Linked DNA regions of Homo sapiens: all the other regions are linked to region 4. The links are contacts of gene promoters, found by promoter capture Hi-C in blood cells and fetal thymus (Javierre and others, 2016). All regions are on one chromosome and are shown on one strand. Each heading gives the region's core, a stretch centred on a gene start or on the middle of the fragment in contact. The rest is flanking DNA. Distances are from core to core; before and after follow the strand shown. Region 1 overlaps LOC105369896 (a long non-coding RNA gene). Region 2 overlaps LOC105369896 (a long non-coding RNA gene). Region 3 overlaps LOC105369896 (a long non-coding RNA gene). Region 4 holds the start of PLEKHG7 (pleckstrin homology and RhoGEF domain containing G7). Region 5 overlaps LOC105369896 (a long non-coding RNA gene).

Evidence for each region. Contacts are between HindIII fragments. The CHiCAGO score rates a contact against its expected background, and 5 or more counts as called.
Region 1: a contact is called between a fragment that was not itself captured here and the fragment with the promoter of PLEKHG7 in region 4, in 5 of 17 cell types (activated CD4 T cells, non-activated CD4 T cells, total CD8 T cells and 2 more). The highest score is 14.4, in activated CD4 T cells.
Region 2: a fragment that was not itself captured here is called in contact with the fragment with the promoter of PLEKHG7 in region 4 in 1 of 17 cell types (non-activated CD4 T cells); the score reaches 6.2 in non-activated CD4 T cells.
Region 3: a contact is called between a fragment that was not itself captured here and the fragment with the promoter of PLEKHG7 in region 4, in 4 of 17 cell types (naive CD8 T cells, total CD4 T cells, activated CD4 T cells and 1 more). The highest score is 7.5, in naive CD8 T cells.
Region 5: a contact is called between a fragment that was not itself captured here and the fragment with the promoter of PLEKHG7 in region 4, in 3 of 17 cell types (non-activated CD4 T cells, activated CD4 T cells and fetal thymus). The highest score is 8.5, in non-activated CD4 T cells.

What each region holds. Positions count from the first base shown.
Region 1 is chr12:91,534,638-91,537,337 of GRCh38, reverse strand. The region is part of intron 1 of LOC105369896 (a long non-coding RNA gene); the gene reads left to right. Among named protein-coding and RNA genes, the nearest start is that of LINC02823, 210 kb to the right of the region's middle. The HindIII fragment of the contact is 1,004 bases long and covers 868-1,871 here.
Region 2 is chr12:91,599,174-91,601,873 of GRCh38, reverse strand. The region is part of intron 1 of LOC105369896 (a long non-coding RNA gene); the gene reads left to right. Among named protein-coding and RNA genes, the nearest start is that of LINC02823, 270 kb to the right of the region's middle. The HindIII fragment of the contact is 729 bases long and covers 941-1,669 here.
Region 3 is chr12:91,514,058-91,516,757 of GRCh38, reverse strand. The region is part of intron 1 of LOC105369896 (a long non-coding RNA gene); the gene reads left to right. Among named protein-coding and RNA genes, the nearest start is that of LINC02823, 190 kb to the right of the region's middle. The HindIII fragment of the contact is 3,063 bases long and covers 1-2,700 here.
Region 4 is chr12:92,701,730-92,704,430 of GRCh38, reverse strand. It overlaps PLEKHG7 (pleckstrin homology and RhoGEF domain containing G7), which reads right to left and starts at 1,442. Exons shown (of 17, transcript NM_001377329.1): 1 at 1,299-1,442. RefSeq lists an enhancer at 1,242-1,301. The HindIII fragment of the contact is 11,169 bases long and covers 1,099-2,701 here.
Region 5 is chr12:91,495,376-91,498,075 of GRCh38, reverse strand. The region is part of intron 2 of LOC105369896 (a long non-coding RNA gene); the gene reads left to right. Among named protein-coding and RNA genes, the nearest start is that of LINC02823, 170 kb to the right of the region's middle. The HindIII fragment of the contact is 1,138 bases long and covers 859-1,996 here.

The sequences.
Region 1 (2,700 bases), core at 120-2,619, 1.2 Mb after region 4:
ATTATAAAGTGGTTATACATTCTGCTTTCTGGCACAGTCCTGCTTTACCCTTGCATCCTAATTTTGTTAATAAATTATATGGTCAACTATTTAAGAGGCATTGATGGGTATTTGATCATAGGTTCACCAAATGATTATGCAATCCAAGTTTTAATAATAAAATATGTGTTGTTAATTACTTTGGCACATGCCCAGCAGCAATCTACCATCAAATATAAATAATCTAGTTTATGAAAACTAAATCAAGAGCTCCTGAAGACACCTTTGAGTTGAATGAGTGGGTGGTTCACACACCACACACATTGTGTGCCTATGCTAGGCATAATGATGGCTCTTCTTTAACCCATACTTGTGGCTTTGCGGTAAGTTTTTTTGTTTGGTTTTTTTTTTTTGAGAAGTTGGCTAAGGAGAAAAAAAAATGAAACCTAAGTTATAGGTGATTCTTCATGATATAGTGATCACATTTGGAATTAAAATTCTGTGGTGTTATGTTATAGCTCGAAGGTCATAATGAGAGAAGGTTGCACATGTCTAGGCCATTCAAAATGTGCTTCTAGTATAAGAGTATTAGATTACCACATAAATATGCAACAAAAAGTTGATCTTGTAGAGGAGGATTTAAATAACTATATTGATAATTTAGTTGTTTTGCAATTATCAGCCACTTTCCTCTGCAACTGTCATATGATATGCTCAAAGAACTCAAGAACAATATGGCTATGTTGGCAGAGAGATATCCCTTCAACAAGGCCAAATGTGGCATGCCACAGGTAATGCTCCATTTACGTCAATACAAAGCCACTATTGTGGTCTCATTAAAGAGAGTATTCTTAGTGTAAAACATATTTTCTGAAACACCATTAAGCTTGGGAAAAACTACTTATTGTTTTTTCATTAAAATAGACATTTATTTCAAATTTATAGTTACTTTCCTTGTTGATCTTGTTTCCCACCGGTACTTCCATTTAATAAATCTGCATATGGCAGTCCTTGTCCATTTCAACCAAGGAACTTCATTTACCGCAAAACAAAGTAGTCTGATGTCCATGAGACTCATGGGGCTTATCACTTATCTGTGGTTTTATAGAAATGTGGAATAGTCTAGTTAGACTTGTTACAATGCCAACTGAGAAAAAATTATTTATCTGTCTTCTATCAAAGTAGTGGGTGCTTTAAAGAGGGGAGTGTTATCTTACTAAACTAGCAAATAGTAAATGAAGAAAAAAGTTGTATGGTGAAGTAGTTAAGAATTCCAGTTCAGGATGCATCTGTTTCAGATACAGTAATGGAAATAACTAAAAAATAATAATAGTAAGAGCATACATAGAACAATGATGCTCAAGACATTGGACATCATTCTATAAAGAGTAGTGATGTTTTATAGAAGAAAAGAAATAAAGAATTCATTATTATTGATCCAGATTACTAGATGGAGAAATATTCTGGGCCACAGTGTAGAGAAAGGGAATCCAGGCTGAATCTGATGCTTTCCCTGAGTTGAGATGGAGCTGGAAGTCTGAGGAAGCAAAGTTGTCTAGAGCCCTCAGGGCAGAGTGCTAGAGAAAAGAGAGATGCACAGAAAAAGAACTCTAAGGACCTGAAGAAGGTACCCATGAAGGTTTCAATTAAGTACTGATTTGCACACTCATGTGAAAAAGCTAGCTAATACAGAAAAAAAATAACTATCCAAAGGAATTAGAAAGAAGAGTGTCCTAAGTTCCAAAAGGTTGACAATAGTGTCTGTTCCTAACACCCAAAGTAGAAAACCACAATTCATGAGGCATCAATTAGAGCACTAACAAAGGTCTTGGCTCAGTAGTGGGGGAAATTAACCCAAGAATAAACAGTAATATGGTCCATTTAATGAAGCTTAAAATATAAAGACTTGAAAGGATTAAATAATTTGCAAGTAACAACTGCATCCAGTACAAAGCCCAAGAAGATTTAAGCTTTTTTAAAAAAAATTCTTTTAAGCTTTTTTTTTTTTAATTTGTACATAACAGGTGTACATCTTTTCAGGGAACATGTGATAATTTAATATATTCATATACTTTGTAAAACATCAAATCAATGTAATTGGGATATATATCCATGAACTTAAATATTTGTCTTTATGCTAGAAATATTGAAATTATTCTCTTCGAGCTATTTTGAAATATACAAGAGATTATTGTAAACAATAGTCAATACACTAGGAGTACTGAATCCAATTGGAGTTTTGAATCAAGAGGGAGGGTTGAGAAAAAAATGTGTGAAAAGATAATGGCTAAGGATTTCCCAAAGCTGATGAAAGCTATAAAGGTATAGTTACTAGAAGCACAAGAAACATGAAGAAAACATGAAAGCATGCAATAATCAAATTGCTTATAACAATAATAAAGAGGAAATCTTGGAAGACAGGGAAAAAAAGACATTATGAAGAGGACAAAGGTAATGATAACAGAGGTTTTTTTGTTTCGTTTTGTTTTGTTTTGTTTTTGGAAATAATGTAAGCCAGAAGGCAGTGGAGCAATATCTTTAATGTACTGAAAGGTTAAAACTGTCAAACTAGAATTTTTAACTCAGAAAAAAACAACTTACAGACAAAAAAGTAAAACAAAGACAGTTTTAGACATGCAAAGGCTGAAATAATTTAACACTAGGAGACCTGAACTATAAGAAAATATCGAAAGGAAGGTTTCCAAGCAGAAGAAAAATACT
Region 2 (2,700 bases), core at 56-2,555, 1.1 Mb after region 4:
GCCTCCATCAGTATTTCTTAAACTTTAATTTGGAGACCAGTGCCACTGTACACACAAAATGGAAAATAGGCAATGGGTTTAATTTTATGTAAAGATAAATTTTTTTAAAAAAGGATATTCTTTGTTCTAAGATAATATTCTTTTTTTTTAAAAAAAAATATGGTCTTATCATGCAGTGGTTAAAATTGTGATAGAAAATTGCCCCGGGTTGAACCCTAGACAAATGTCTTAGCACTTCTGCAGTCTTGGGTAATTGCACGTCTTTCTGGGCTTCAGTCTTTTCAACTGTAAAATGGGGAGACTACCATTAATCATACGAACTATACTAAAGATGGAAAAACATGATATTCAGAAGTTGCTCTGCTGGCTGGTTGACTGATACTCATTAGATGCCTGCCTCTCCTGTAAAAATATTTACTTTCAAGAAACGGTGGTGTTGGTAGAAATAACTTTACATAGTTTGTTTTACTCATTTAGCTTATTATCTGGGTTATACGTTTACATGATTCAAGATGCAAACAGTCCCAAAAGTTTCCACCAGGTACCACCAATTCCTCTTCCCTGAAGGCATCAATTATTATTGTGTTTCTCTCATATACTTTCAGAGATATTTTATGCCGATGTAAGCAAATACACATAGGTGTATATATTCTACTACTCCTTTTTTTTGCTCAACTGGTTGCGTATAATATTTGCTGTTCTATAACTTTTAAAAATAATATATCTTACATATCATTTCTAACAGTATATAAAGAAGCTCATCATTGTTTTTATGTATTCTATTGCAGTCTATGTATTGTGTTCTATTGATATCAAGTGACGCTACCTTGTTAACTAGTCCCCTGGGTATTTAGTTTGCTTTCAATATTTTGCTACAAAAATCAACATGCAGTAAACAACCTTGTTCATTTCATACATATGTAACATCTGTAGAAAAGCTTCTAGAAGTAGAATTTCTGGACAAACAAATTTATGTTTGTAGTTACGATTTTGCCACATTACCCTCTATCAATGTTATGACAGTTAAAACTTGTAGTAGCAATATACCCAAGTTCTTGTTACTCCTATCCTTCATCAGTATGTTATCATACTGGCTGATCTTAGCCTAAATGAAAGGTGAACAATGGTATCTCATTGTATGCTTAGTTTATACTTTCCTTGTAAGTAACATCAAGTGAGTTTTTTCATGTCTGTATGTGGTAAGCAGAATTCTAAAGGTGTCCCCCTAAGATTCTCATTCCTGTTGTAAAGAAAATATAATCAAACATGACTTCACATACTGTTGTAAAATGACTTTGCAGATGCCATTAAAGTTACTAATCACCTGACATTAAAATAGGGAGATTATCCTGGAACACCTGGATGGGCCCAGTCTAATCACAAAGTCCTTAAAAGCAGAACAGAAAATGGAAGAGTCAGTCAGATGTGTAGTAATAGAGGAAGGCAAGAGAGAGGAGGCAGAAGGAGAGGTCAATGAGATTTGAAGCACGAGAAGGACTCAGTTGGTCATTGCTGGCTTCAAAGACAGAGAAAGGGTCCCTGAGCCAAGGAATATAGGAGCCTGTTGAAACTAAAAACAACCCTTTGCTCACAGCAAGTAAGGAAATGGGGACTTTAGTCTACTTGGAACAGAATTCTTACAACCCATTAATAAACATAGTTAGAAGCTTCAGAAATATAAAATAAAACGGGTAAATTTCAATGTTTATAAATTTTACCTCAATCAAGAAAAAAAGGAAAACAGTAAAATGCATTTTTTTAGGTTAGGAAGTGATAAAACATATTTTTCAACACTCAGGAAAGAAATATGAGACATGAATTTTTATATCCTTCAAGTGTAAGGCCATTGACAACCAATCAAAGGAAGTTTTGAACAGGCGAGCTACCTGGGAATATCATTCGCATGAGTATTTGCTCAGGAATGTAGTAGAGAATAAACTTCTGCCACTACAAAATGACTGGAGAAACTTCATTTATAAGGTCTGTGAGGTGTAAACTGAACATATTTAACTGTAGAACTGAGACAAAAAGAGGAAGATAAACCTTGGCAGAATAGTATATAAATATAATATGCTTTAAGAATAAAAGGTGTATTTAGTGCATTCTTGCATTGCTATAAAGAAATACTTGAGACTGGGTAATTTATGAAGAAAGGTTTAATTGGCTCATGGTTCTGCAGGCTGTAAGGGAAGTATAGCGCCAGCATCTGCTTGGCTTCTGGGGAGGCCTCAAGGAGCTTTTACTCATGGTGGAAGGCAAAGTGGGAGCAGACACGTCACAGGGAGAGAGCAGGAGTGAGAGAGAGTTGGGGGGAAGGAAGGTGCCACACACTTTTGAACGACCAGATCTCATGAGAACTCACTCACTGTCATAAGACAGCACCTGGGGGATGGTGCTAAACTATTCATGAAAAACCTGCCCCCATGATTCAATCGCCTCCCACCAGGCCCCACCTCCAACATTGGGGATTACAATTCAACATGAGATTTAGAGGGGGCACATAACTAAACTGTATCAAAAGGCATTATAAAACTAACAAAAATATGAAACGAGGAGAACTAATGTAAAGTCAAATTAGCTCTCTGATATTTTCATAGATTTTAATAGGGAGTGTAAGGGTATTAGCTAAAATTCACAAATGGAGTAGTTTAGTATATTTAGGAATAAAAACATTAAAATTAAAATCAATGGTTAAAATTG
Region 3 (2,700 bases), core at 56-2,555, 1.2 Mb after region 4:
TTTCTTATGTCCCAAGACTTTTAGAACTACCCCCACCCTATACAGAGATTAGTTCCCTAAAATAAAGAATTCAGTCATAACTATTATCTGTGGTGTTTTCTTTTGGCACTTCCCTTTATGAGACTGACAAAATATCTTGAACATAATAAATTCTCAATGTTTAGAACGCTGAAAAGCTAAGTGGAGAAAGAGCTAAAGATAAGAACAAGCCATATATCAAAGAGTTATAAGGAAATAGGCTAATCTATGCCTAAGTTCAAAAGTAAACACAGAGTCAAAAGTGAGAAGAAAAATAAAAAACGTCATAGACTAGCTACACACAGGAATTAAATAGGTGGCCAAGCTAAGCCAAAGTTAGGAATCTAGGAAAAAACTCCCAAAAGATGAACCAAGCTGACATCCATTTTTAGTAAGTAAAAATAACATGATTCATAGGCAAATGAGTATAAAGGTCCCGAGTTTCTGCCTGCTGCTTCTTAATTGGGTGACCTTGGATAGGTAATTAAACTCTTCTAAGCTCCCCTAAGCCTCAGCTTCTGCCTTTATAAGATGGAGCTACTTCATGGGATTTTTGTAAGAATGAATTATGATAGTACACGAAAAGTGCTTAGGGTAGCATAAAGGACTCAATGAATGTTAATTGCTATTACTAGAGATTGCGTTAGATAACATCAGTCTTTTCTAATGTTCTTAAAATGTTGTCAGAGTATAATATTCCTAATTTGTTCACTCATTCTCAATGTAGTAGAATTATAGTCTCCCTGATCTGATGCTGCAGCCCTGTGAGAACTTCTTTTTACATACATGGCTAGTGGTAGGCAGAATGGATAATTCCGTGTAAGGTATATGCATGAAATGTATTTCCTGAAATGCACTATACATACATGATCCATGCAAATTCTTTACCCCCATTTACCCCCATTATAAACCTGCTTATTTAGAATCTGATTGTGACCATGACCAAAATGTTTTGGTAGAACTACTTAATGTCAATGACTAAACATATTAGGAAGAACTTGGCTCATATTTCTAATTTGCCCTTGCTTTGTTTTAGAAATGGTTTAGAATTTACCTCCTGTTAAAAAGAATTGACTGATTGTAAGAATCATAATAATGGAGTTTTAGCTTTTATGACCTTCATGCCAGATATGATCCTTATGCTGGCAATCAAGTCATGGCTATTTAGCTTAGGCTGAATTTATAATAACTTTTGGATTACTCTGAATTAAATAAAAATGGTCCTAGGAAGAAGACTGAGAATTTAGGCAGCTACAGCTCTCTCTCTCCTCTCTCTCTCTCTCTCCTCTTCTCTTTCTCTCTTTCTTTCTCATCTCTATCTTTGCTTTGGAAGGGGTAATGTCTGAGTTTCTGCCCTTTCCTATTTCATGTGTTCTTTTAAATTATTATTAAATTTTTGGACAAAAAAAGATGTCTTTTTTTTCTTCTGAGATCCTTTCAGAACACATCCTCGGGGCTCACACATCTAAAGCTGCCTAAATTCTCAGTCTTCTTCCTAGGACCATTTTTATTTAATTATTAGGCAGCTAATGCCCAATTTATATTATTTGGAGTCTAGTTTCTCCAGTCTTTACCTCATTAGTCCTTATACTTGGATTCAGCTATAACAGCTTTTCTGTTATTTTACTTTTCTGCATGCCTTGTATACCTCTTTTTCCTTCTCCTTGTTCTCCTCCTCCTCCTCTTCTCTCACTTCTTGTTTACTGTGATTTTCCAAGGAACTAACTAGAAATTATCCAGCCTAGTTCATGATCTTGTCCTAAACAACATTAATATCAACTGAGTTTGCACCATCATTCAACGTTTACATAAATTTGCAACAATCTCCCTTCCCAGACGGTAAGTTTGAGGTTCTCAACAGTGTTCCAATGGCTGACATTCTCATGGTTTGCCTCTAGCCTTGAATTCCGATTCCCACTGAACTCCAGTTCTCAAGAGTGTCTCATCTCCAATGTTTGTTCATGACATGTGGTCCTATGCTGACCTATTCATCTCTGCTTTCTCCAAAATGCTACCCACACAAGTCATTTGCAGGTGCATCAGATTTTACCAAGAAGAGTATTGTATAGCAGCAATAGTTTCCAAACTGTTTAATACTGAGCATTAGACCTGTTCTAGAGGCTTTTGTCCATGAGCCACCCACTAGAAATTTCTTAGTAATCACAGAGTTCCTGCATCTCTGGATTCCTGCTTTGCTACATTTTTCTAGTCTCTTTCTCTTTCTTCTGTCTCCTCTCTCTCTCTCTCCTCTCTCTCTTCTCTTTCTCTCTTTCTTTCTCATCTCTATCTTTACTTTGGAAGGGGTAATGTCTGAGTTTCTGCCCTTTCCTATTTCATGTGTTCTTTTAAATTCTTATTAAATTTTTGGACAGAAAAAGATGTCTTTTTTTTTTTCTTCTGAGATCCTTTCAGAACACATCCTCGGGGCTCACACATCTAAAGCAAAATAGCAAGGTGTTTTTCTAAACAAAGACAGTGTTCTCTCTAAGGGGAACTCTGAGCCAGCCGTTAACATTACAATTTTATTTACCCTGCCACCTTCGCTTAAAGAACAAACCAATGAAGACCTTTTGGGATTTAACTTCTCCAGAAAAAGGCATATGTACATGGCAGGAATATTATCATAATATAATTTTCCTTAAAGGTTTTGGTTATGTCGATATTTATAATCCAGCTGTCCCA
Region 4 (2,701 bases), core at 193-2,692:
GGTTGATACCAACATTGCTGGAGAGGTATGAAATGGTCCCTCCCTACCATTGATAAAATAAGGTACATTGTTGCTACATGGAGAGGCCAGTTCCTCATTCTCCCAACAAACAAATGCTGAGCTGAGCATCAAATCTATAGGTACTTTCTTTCTTTTTTTTTTTCTTTTTAGAGATGGAGTCTGGCTCTGTCGCCCAGGCTGAGTGCAGAGGTGTGATCATATCGCACTGTAACCTCAAACTCCTAGCCTCACAGAATCCTCATGCTGCAGTGCTCCTGAGTAGTTGGGGCTATGGATGCTTACCACCCCACCCAGCTAATTTTGAATCAATAGGTACTTTCACACATACATACAATCAGGGCCGTTCTATTATTTTTCTCCTTTAGAAGACTGTCCAAGTTCTAGGCAGCAACAATGTTAAAGGAATTCAGTATATTTGCATAGGCACTTGCATAATAGTTAGATCAGATTTCTTAGTCTTTGGGTTTCCCCTCTGTCCTTCTGGCCTTTTCCTCTCCTCTTTTGAGGGGTTAGGATACGGCTTTGGGTTTCCTTTGTAGTCGTTCAGACACAGGGGTGTAGCTGCTGGTAGGAAGTTATTTATGGCCAATAGGATTCACATCGGTAAGAATTATTTATTAGCCACTGTCTTAAATATTGGAACCAAGGCAATAGTAACTGCCGACATGATGCACTGCGGAAATGGAGAAACTTTAAAAACAGCAGGGCTTAGGGAGGTGGTTTGCAGAAAGGCAGGAAGAGCTCAAGCACCAGAAGAAATGGGTCTGGTTTCTCTTCCAGTATCACCGCCAATTGGCTGTGTGACCTAGGACAAGCCACTTCTCCTCTGCCAACTGCCATGCAGCATTTACCAAGAGGACATCAAAGAACCTCCCTCACAGGCCTGTTGCAGAAATTAAATGAGATAATGGCTAAGGCTCCTGGGAAGCTTTCCCTAAATGACTACACCCAGTGGATCTGGTAGAATCAAAAGTTAACAAGTCAATCCATTCATGCTAACTCTTCTTTATGTTTAAAAGAGGAAATTAATACATGGTCACCATAAAGAAAATTCACCAACCTTTGACCTTCCAAGCTTTGAGAATCCAGCAAACACCCACCCACACTGTTGGGGAAGCCATCTCACTGTACTAGAAATGAAACCATTGCAGGTTAATGATTCACTAATTCTAATGAGACCTGGAGAGATCAGCAAAACAAGCGAAACTGATAGCAATAGGACAAAAGGAAAGTGCAAGAGAGAAACCCAGAAAGCAGCTGAATGTTGCCTTTAATACCTGTAAGATGGTCTGTCCCTGAAGGCAACTGCACCCAGGTGGGTCCCGAGGCTCCTCAGAACCCGCAGATCCAGAGTGAGCTGCCAGGCGAGGGCTCGGAGCAACAAGTTCCACACCTGTAACAATGCGTCCTCCTGGCTGAGTGAAAGCAACCTTGCTACCAGCTGCAATGAGGAACTGGTCTCTCCCCTCCTTAGAGACATTTCCAGTTATTTGTTTATGAAAAAGCCTAAAGGGAAGCCAGCTCAGAATCTAAGGCAGCCTAAGAACAAGTCAGGTAAACAACGGCTGATCAAATACAGAAATGATGCAAATGTAACTTTTTACTTCCTCTTGAGGCATTCAACAAATCATCACTCATAGTTCAGTGAAGCAGTTCTAGGTTTCTATTTCATTTATTTTCTCTAAGGTTGTGAGATGCATTCTTTGGGACTCTACTTTCTTCACATCATAAAACATTTTGTGTTGATCTATTTTATTAATGACTTGCTTTGATAAGCATTGAATAGTAGAGGAAATGATTAGAGCACCAGGGAGTGAATTTGTGAACATTAGTTTTCAAATAATTAAAATGCAAATGGAAGAGCATTTATATCTACCAGTATTCTCATTAGATCAGTACCCCAAAGAATATTTATTTGATGCCTAGGTGGAGATAATGCATATGTATGCAGCATTAAACAAAAATGTCTATAGACTTTCCCAAAACAAAGTTGAAGTAATTCTAATGAAGTCTAATTCACTGAAGTTTTCATTGATTGGACTCATTACAGATACTTACTGTGAAGGTTCCCTGAGGTCGGTAGTTCTTAAAGTAGGGTCCCTGGACCAGCAGTATCACTATGACTTGAGAACTTGTTAGAAAGGAAAAATCTTCCCCCTCCATGCTCTCCAACCCCTGGAACTCTGGGATGGGGTCAGAAGTCCGTGGTTTTTTTTTGAGACAGGGTCTCACTCTGTCACTCAGGCTGGAGTGCAGTGGCACGATCTCAGCTCACTGCAACCTCCACCTCCTGGGTTCAAGCGATTCTCCTACCTCAGCTTCCTGTGTAGCTGAGATTACAGGTGCACACCACCAGGGCCCGGCTAACTTTTGTATTTTTAGTACAGACGGGGTTTCACCATATTGGCCAGGCTGTCCGAACTCCTGACCTCAGGTGGTCCACCCACTTCGGCCTCCCAAAGTGCTGGGATTACAGGTGTGAGCCACTGTGCCCAGCCAGAAGTCTGTGTTTAACAAGACTTCCAGGTGATTCTTACATGGGTTAAAATTTGAGAACCACTGCCCTTAGAGGAAAAGAAAAAAAGGTCTAACTTATAGATGTTGGCCTTGTGATAAACTTTATATTAGTCTTTAATTCTCTCATATTGATCTTACTAGAACATCATTTACTTAGAACTTT
Region 5 (2,700 bases), core at 178-2,677, 1.2 Mb after region 4:
TCTATCCTGAATTGAGCATATATTATTCTCTTTTCCTTAGACTTGTTCTAGTAAGGAAAATTTAAATTTTTTTTTCAGTTTTGTAATTTTACAACATAAATAAATACTGTTATAAGTATTTATGTGAATTACTCTTATTATGTTCAGTAATATGCTGTGAGATTCTTTGTGGCTAGTTAATTTAGTCATTTTGAATTCACCAGAGCCTATCGGTTTATAGTACTTTTTCCTGTATTTTCCATCTTATCTCTCAGTATTTTATTTTGGGTATCTTCCAGTTTTACTAATTTTCTGTTCAGCTGTGATTGAACTACTAGTAGACTCATCCACCAAGTACTTAATTTTAGGTATTGTACTTTAATTTTCTAATTTCATTTGATTCATCTTGATAGTTTCCAATTCTCCACCAGAATTATCCATCTTATCATTTAACTCTTTTAGTATATAAATTGTAGTCATTTAAGAATCTGTGTTCGAGTATGCCAGTATCTGGATCTCTTTCTTGTATTGCTTTATTTTCTTTTAGTTTTTGCTCAAGACTAGCTTTTTATTTGTCTAACCATTTTTTAAAAAGTATGAAACATTATAACAAAAAATATGAAATAACATGATATCCACAGGATGTTATCTTTATTCAGAGTGGGAAAATTTTTGGATGAAAATTTCTTTATGATGGATTGAAAGGGCATGAAATTAGGCTTTGAGATTTTGGGGGAGGACTGGTCTACTTCCAATTCACCTTTATCTTAGGACATAGCTTTTAAAGGTTCCCAGCTGAGAGACTCTATACCTGTAGATCTCTGAATGCCAGTTTTTGCCTCTTCAGCTCCATATGTCTACTAGCAGCTCTGCAAAGCTTCTCAACCATAGCTTTTGTAATCCGCAATAAGTTGAAGTAGAAACAGCTCCATAGTTAGCCGTGTTGATAGGCATGGATAGAAAGACCTACATGTCTACATCTGTATCTGTCCATCTATATATCTTTGGTTCTTTTTCAAATATGTGTGATTATTTTTTATTGATTATTACTCCTTATCTATGCTTTTAATTTCTTCTTTTATTTATTCAATCATATTAAGCATATCATCTTTCTGTTAATTTCAATGTATGAAGTCTCTGCAGGCCTCATTCTTAAGCTATTTTTCTGCTTACTCTCCCTCTTGGTATTTTTTGGGGGCATGCTTTGTAATTAAAAAAAATTAGTGATTTCATACATATTAAAATTTTATTTGTGGGCCTTCTTTAAGACCTGTATTTAAAATGCATTATTCAGAAAGGGTTTATTTTTCTCTTTTCAAAGAACATGGGGTAAGGGGCACTACCAACCTGGCAGCAGCAACCTAAATCCAATTCTCTACTCGAGATTTTTTTATATCCTTTAGGTAGTGTGAATTCATAATACAAAAAAAGTATTACAGTTGACTTAAGAACACTTGATATGTCTCCTCCACCAAGAGCTAAAGTCCAGATAGAACAATTTCCGCCCTGGTCCTTTTTGTGGAAATTTTTTGTCATTGTTGTTAATGAGTCACAATTTATACAAGGGCTATGTCTTTGAGAGTCTTCATTTTATGTGGGAGTCTCTGTCTGACGTTCTCACCATGAACAGACTCAAGGCTTTTCTTCCTTGTATTGTGTGACCATTTAAAATGAAACTCAGTTAGGATTAGCAGGTGCTGGTCATGTTATCTCTGGATATGTGCTCCCAGTTTTCTAACCCCTGAGGAGGGATAGCTTATTTCACTGCAATCTTCATCATCCATTTAAAACTTTTTTAACTAATATTTTTATGAAACATTTTCAGATATTTTGTAAATAAGGACAAGGTATTAAGATCACAATGCTCAAAGCTCCATTCAGGACTTTAGCATTTACTTGTTGGACTTTTCATAATAATCTTCCAAGTCAGAGGTTGGCAAACTATGGCCTGTGAAACAAATCCAGCCCACTGTGTGTTTTTATAAATAAAGTTTCACTGAAAGTTTTATTGAAAGCTTTGCAAATATGTGTTTCTGCCTTCAGTTTAACAGACTTTTTTATAGCGTGTAGAGGGGGGTGTGTTTTTTTTTTATTTTGTTTTTATCTTCTTGTTTTCCTCTTTCTCTTTGCTCTTCTACCCTCATCCATCATTTTCTAGCAAAGGCTTCCTTTCAGGGGCTGAATTAAAAACCATTCTTCTAATTGTGATATTTTATCCTGAAGGTATGAGGGAAAATCCAAATGAAGCTACCCAGTGAGGGTTTGGGTTGGTTCAGCTCAAAGCTGTCTATATCCTCCTGCCCTATAGGCCTGCCGCTCACCATGTGCCCCTGTAGACCTGGATCACACCATGTGCCACAGCCCCTGCAATGGAACAGTCTTTCTCAGGCTCTTTTTATTAGGTGAGGACTCTGGCTTCACTGAGAAAGGCAGAAGTCAGCTCCCAAATACCACAAAGAATACTCTTAATTTTCTTATTCTGACAGGAGTCAAACTCTTGGCTTCCACTGTTTGCTTCTGGATGTGAACCTTGACCATTCCACAGTACCATCTCTGCACATTCTCTCATTTCTTGTCACAAAGTAGTTTATCTTGTGTTTGAGCCAAGGCATATCTTTTTTATATTTTATCTATCATTGCTATTTGTTTAGAGCCGAAGGGATGATCAAAATATTGCCACTGTATCATCTTTCTGAAATTTGAGTTAATGTGATACTTTTA